Regions from separate parts of the Homo sapiens genome. Here region 2 is linked to region 1. The links are contacts of gene promoters, found by promoter capture Hi-C in blood cells and fetal thymus (Javierre and others, 2016). All regions are on one chromosome and are shown on one strand. The core of a region is centred on a gene start or on the middle of the fragment in contact, and the rest is flanking DNA. Distances in the headings are between cores, read along the strand shown. Region 1 holds the start of PTPN13 (protein tyrosine phosphatase non-receptor type 13). Region 2 has its middle 41 kb from the start of MIR4452.

Region 1 (3,142 bases), core at 341-2,840:
AGACTTTAGGAAAATACCTAAGCTTGTTTCATAATACATGCACTTTTACTCCCCCCCCCATCCTTTAGTAAACTTTCTAGATATAAATTTTAAAATCTTAAAATTTATAATTAGTTACCAGCGCCCTTCATCCCACAGATCAGGTGTCCTACATTTTGTTCAGGTCCTGCCTTGAAAACAAACCCGATTGCCCCATTTTCTGCGAGGGAGCTCAGCTCCAGGCAGCTCCCTATGAAGTCACCGCGTTTGTTGTTTCAAAGATGCAATTAAATGAAAATGACACAAGGCTGTCGAACAGATTAGTTGGAAGTGTGCGGTGGTGTCGATCATATACGTGTATGGCCAATGAAAACTGTATTGCTGTAAATCTCTTAGTGATATTTCTCCCCATCCTCCTCTCTCCATTATATTCACAACAGAAGGAAATTAAACTTTGTAAGAATTTTCTTGACTTTGGTTTAACTTTAGCTTCCCAGCTGTCTGCTCTTACAGTATCACGTAATGAGCAAAGCGGTGGGGCTAGGGGGCCGGAGGGTAGAGTGTTAACTTTAGCAAGCAGAAGAAAAGCAATAAAAGACCTTGCATCAGACAGTGTCTCTCCCTCTGCCCCCTCTTCCTCTGCTTCCCCGCCATCCCACCCCCTTCTCGAGCCCTTACACACACATTCTTCTGGGCGGCCTCTAACCACACCATCTCCACAATCATTTGCAGAAATTAGAAACAGACTCCGGGAGCCCTTCCCTTAAGCACGCACAGAGCGGAGCTGTGCAAGCACGACGGGGCAATGTCACTCCCTATTACCCCACAATCTCTTACTCCCCCTGTGGGTTTCATTCCCGAGAATCCGGCTTTCTTCCGCAGAGGAGATGGATCTACCTAATTAGCAATGGAGTTTCATCTCATTCTTCCCCACTCCAGTCACCCCACCCCCACTCTAACGTACAAAAACACCCACCACCAAAACCAAAGAAAAGTTCCTTCTACCAGGGCAACCGAGGAGTTGGGTTTAGGGACTGGAGCGAAAGCAGAGAGAGGAGGAAGAGAACGAGCGCAATGTACTTTGTTTTGCACTTCTGCACATGCAGCGCAGAGCCCAGGGCGGCTCTCGTCCTTACCGGCTGGTCCCGAGACCGGGTCCTGCTACTGGAGCGCCGGGCGAGGGCTGCAGGGACGCGGCGTCGGGGCGGGCCGCCGGCAGCCGCCGCGGGCGCCGAGAGCCACCACCACTTCTCCCACAAGCGGCTGCGGGCGTGGGCTGAAGGAGCTGTAGAAGGAGCCTGGGGAGGGGGAGAAGAGGAGCAGCATCTCCTCCTCCTCCTCCTCGCCTCGGAAACGCTCCCCAGCGGCGATCCCGGCCGACTGCCTGACCCCCGAGCGCTCAACGCACCCCCGCCGCCCTACTGTGCTCGACGCCTCTCCAAGAGCTTCGCCAAAACCTTCTGGCGCGGGCGGCTCAACTCCTGTAGGCGACTCTGACCGCTGCCGAGGCGGACCGGGGAGCTACGGAGCACGGCTCGCCAGCACGACGGTCTCCAGGGGCCGTGAGCATGGTGTGTCACCCTCGCCTCAGCGTGGCCGCTGGAGCTACTCGCACCACTGGGGCTCCACCTCGGGCAGCCGCGCCGGCTCCGCCCCCCCGGTCCTGTCACTCAACCATTCCCCGGCACTGGGAGGACCGCAGATCTCCCACCCCGAGCTCCCCTCGACCTCATTGGCCCGCCTGGCATCCAGCTCCACCTCCTCCCTAGGGACGAGGTCGCCAGGGAGACCAGCGCCCCGGTTGCCATGACAACCAGTGCCTTGGGCCTGGCTTTTCGCGTTCTTCGGACTAGCCAGAGGCTCAGGTTGGTGACCGAGCGGCAGAGTTCCTAGCGCCTGCAGTGTGGTGAACTCCAACTTTTAGGCCAAGTTGAAAATGCAGCCGACGACCCCCACACTTCTAACTTCAGAATCAAAACTATGACCCTAGGGAGTGAGGAGGAGAGTGAAAAATGCGTAAGTGCTGGCTCCTCCCTTACTCTTCGCTGCCTCTCAGCCTTGTTTCTATATTCTCACGGGGCGCTTTGGTCTTTGAAAGGAAGAGGAGAATGGGGGAGAGGAAGAGCATGGCTTTGCCAGCTCCTTGCAGCAATATAGCAACTTAGAAATGGCGGGGTCAACGAAAAAAGCCCGGTGAGTTTTCCCACGGTTGTAAAGCTATCTTCAAAAGTGTGGTGACAGCACAACGCCAAATGCCCTAGGGAAAACTGAAATTCTCATATTTTTGAAAAAAGTTTGTAAATACTTGCCTTGTTATTTTATCTATGAGACTAAAATAATCCCGAAGTTTGAAAATTTAAGGAAAAGGTTTAACATAGTCGATAACCTCCCACTTTTCTATATACACTGAAATTTGGCCAAGGTATATCCAGACAGCTGTACCCCTCCTTGCTGCAAGCCGAAATATTTGAGTTTCAATAGTTAAACAAGAGAGTCTTGCTGAATTCATGAACAAATAATATCCTGTGATTTGAGTTTTGAAAGTTTTGGGTTATTCTCAGAGGTATAAGGTAAACTGGTCCACTCTGGAAAGGGTACCTGAAGATAAATTTAGTCTGAGACCCTTAATGTTGAGCCCTAGGTAAATCTGAATTTCATGGCTGGCTCCAAAGTGGAGAGATCTGAGGCTTATTTGGCTTCCCCAAAAAAAGTCAAAGCAGCAATCCTAGGTTCCCTAGCCCCTGAGGCTGCCATACATGTATGATGAATGAGGGAATTAATAGTAATGATTTATCTTTGGCGAGCACTTGAGTTTTCATTATATCATTTACTAAATGAATAACTATGATAGATATCTTCAGTCAAATATGCCTTACAAGTATGCATTGAATGTGATTACTCATAGGGCTAAACACAACGGAAAATACACAGCAGGATTTTAAGCTAAGTCCCCGCTCCCAAGGAGCTAACCTGGAGCCTAAGAAAGAAAACTAGCACTCTTGAAACAATTTGAGAACAATTATAGCTAAAATGTGCAGCCAAACTTTGAGTAGGTAGCAGCTAAGAGAAAGTTTGCTATGTAAAATGGGCTGGATTCCTCAGTTTATGGAAGAGGGGAATTTACACTGGGCTTTGATGAATGCAGCAAAGATGAGGAAAGTCA
Region 2 (3,073 bases), core at 523-3,022, 93 kb after region 1:
GCAGTCCCTCTTTTGAGATTCCAGAGGCATTGGAAACTGTAATCTTCTGAACTGAAGGATCCCACCCTTCTTCCTAGAATAAATCTTTGTTACTTGACTCTGTAGTCTATATTGATGATCCACACAGAATAAGCCTCACAAAAAAGTCTGTTATTTTTGTTTATGTGCTGAGTTTGAGGTGTTGGTGGTAAATTTTGGCAAAAATGTCTTTTAGAATGAAAATGTAAGTCCAGAATAAAGAAGAGAGATAAACGTTGACTGAAATGTGGGAGTCATTTTCTATCAAACTAAATAAGAACTCTAAAGGAAAGAATGTACCAAAGAGAATATTAATTATAGGTGCCAGAAGAATTCTCTGTAGTGGGAAAGTTAATTTGACATATGGAGGAGAGGCAATGTACATTTAAAAGCTATCAAGAATATGCCTCAAAAACTTTTTGTTTGGTCAATCACCTTGATGGGCCATATTACAGTGGAAAATAAAACTCAGAGCATGCTGAGGTATAGGAGTGATATAAAGAGAAACAAGAAGTTTTGTGAGTTTCAAAGGAATGGTCAAGAGAAATGTACTTCATATTATTAAGTCAATGCAAAGTAAAGCTAAGGAGAATTTAGCTTTACTTTGGAGAATTCAGTAGAAGCAAGAAATCCAAGCAAGAAATGACTCAGAATAATGTTAAGCTTCTTTAGAATTCATGAAGATACTTCAGGAGCGAGTTGGGGGATGCTGTTTTCCATTATATTCTGAATGGGTATTCTTCCCATTTTAATTTATAACACAAAAATATATGGCAATAGAATGGGGGTGGTTACTATTTTGGGGACATCCAAGTTGTAAATGTATGAGTCACAACACATTTAGAGGAGGAAAAAAAATGGAGATCAAAAAGTAGCCGTTAAAGAGGCAGAAGAAAATGGTTTCAGAATATTTCTAAAACTTGGATGACTTTATACTTGAACTGGTTAAAATGGCATGAAATCCATTTACCTTTAAAAGACCCTGCAGTGCTGCCATGCAGTGCCCTGCCATTTTGTTGTGGTTGTTGTTAAGGGATTAATTAATTTCCATAATAGTCTTTACTTTCAACTCAGGAGAATGTTAACTTTGTGCTTTTTTGGGACAATTATGGATGTGAGTCTCCTTAATCTTCCATGTAACCTACTAAACCACAAGTTCTCAAATTAACCAAATTGGAAGTTGGAGGAAAAATTCAACTATGCATTTTTTGAGTGAAGGATAGTCATCACTTCATTCTCTGACACAATGTAATGTTGAACCCAGTTGGTATGTCTTTCAAAACTGACATGGAGTCTGTTCTTTGACTGCACAGTAGTGTGTGTGTGTGTGTGTGTGTGCATGCACACACACATGCATACAAATGCATGTTTTCTGTTTTAAGACTATTACTTCTCTTTGAAACAGAATACCCTGGATAAGTTATAGATGGATATTATGGGTTTAACCCAACTAATTATAAAAAAGCGAACCCTCCTTACCAGCTGGGCTCTTCCTAGTTCCTAATTCTCATTCTGCTACACAGCAAGGAAACACTAGGATACAGAGCTGTTTTAACTTGAAAAAGAGCTCCATGTCACACAATAAAATGATATTTTAGTTTTACATTGTAGACTAGAATGTATAGTGTAAATGATTCCTTGGTTCAGAAAAAATATACAATATTAATATATGCTTATTAAATAAATACAGTTGTATACCACTTGGTTGAAAGCTGTTGAAGACTATATATAAAATAGCCTGCACCTGAACATAGGGCACAGAGAAACTCAAGAACTATTACCTGAACTAATTTTCAAGGTTTTCAATTTATTGTTTTTATCTCCTGTGGAATTCAGGTCATTATTGCTAATTTCAAATGAAAAAGAATCAATTAAAAGTTTTTTTTTTTTTTTTTTTTTTTTTTCAGATCGTAGAGAGTTTCACATCATTGCAAATGAAATCTTCATTCACATAAGAAAGTGTAAAGAGTTTCATATGTTTACCAAAGTATCATGTTTTTACCATTACCCTAACCTTCTAATCTGTTTATATTTTTAAATGTTAACAGATTTCAAATACTTATCAGAGAAAAAAATTGTCCTATTAAGGAGCTTCAGGTGTTTGCTTTGTAGATGTGGTATATAGATTTAAATTGTGCTGGAATTTATATTTTTTACCTAATGTGTATCCATAACTATTTTGGCTGTAGCAACATGGCTTTCATTTTGCATAGCTAATAAAAGTAGCTGATGAGTCAGTCTAATGATATTGCTTTATGCTTCCTTAGAGTCTTTCATCTGCAGCTCACTAAATGCTTTGTAAACATTAATTAAACATCACAACACACACTGGAGGAAAGGTTAGTATTATTATCCTTTTATGGGGAAACATATATAGAGGGCTTAGGTAAGGCAAATATTAAATATATAGAACTGAGTTCTACAGGATACAGGTGCCAATAATGCTTCTTCCTGAGCACAGAGAAAGGAGCATAGGTGTAATTACAACAAAACCCCCAAAGTTTATGGGGAACCTGAGTTTCAGGAAACTCAGAACACTTTGTGAAATAAATTTCAGAGATTGTGTATTAAACTGAAGTTTCTAGTTAGAAGAGTGTGTACCACACAGTACGCAAACTTATCTTTTTCCTGATGAAGTGGAAAATCAGGTCAGGATTACTGCAACGTGCTTGAACTTAATAACTGAAAATAGAATCATATGATCTGGGTATTCTAGCACAACCCGATTTCAAATAAGCTGATCTGCTTCTCCCATAAGTGGATTCAGACTATTCTTATTGTGTGACCTAATTTTTAGTTTTGAGGATCAAATCACCATAGCTATTATGGCCAGTTTTGAAGCTTTATTTCTATATCCTAAAATGAAGTGGGTATTGACCAATTATCAGACAATCTGGGTAATTCAGATGGCTGGCAAATCAGTTGTTCAATTGCTAGTAACACAGATAGGAATTCAGCAAGATGGAATTTTATATTTCTTTCATAAAAGGAAGGCTTAAGAGAGGCTTATATGGTAGCTCTAAAGTGGTATCAGTGACTCAGGCGCTTTTAGTTT

What was found. The method cuts DNA at HindIII sites, captures the fragments that hold promoters and counts their contacts. A CHiCAGO score of 5 or more calls a contact.
Region 2: a fragment that was not itself captured here is called in contact with the fragment with the promoter of PTPN13 in region 1 in 3 of 17 cell types (M1 macrophages, M2 macrophages and megakaryocytes); the score reaches 6.0 in M1 macrophages.

The regions. Positions count from the first base shown.
Region 1 is chr4:86,592,763-86,595,904 of GRCh38, reverse strand. It overlaps PTPN13 (protein tyrosine phosphatase non-receptor type 13), which reads right to left and starts at 1,590. Exons shown (of 48, transcript NM_080683.3): 1 at 1,116-1,590. It also overlaps a transcript of MAPK10 not described here. RefSeq lists an enhancer at 1,353-1,939. The HindIII fragment of the contact is 4,151 bases long and covers 25-3,142 here.
Region 2 is chr4:86,499,964-86,503,036 of GRCh38, reverse strand. It overlaps a transcript of MAPK10 not described here. Among named protein-coding and RNA genes, the nearest start is that of MIR4452, 41 kb to the left of the region's middle. The HindIII fragment of the contact is 2,178 bases long and covers 684-2,861 here.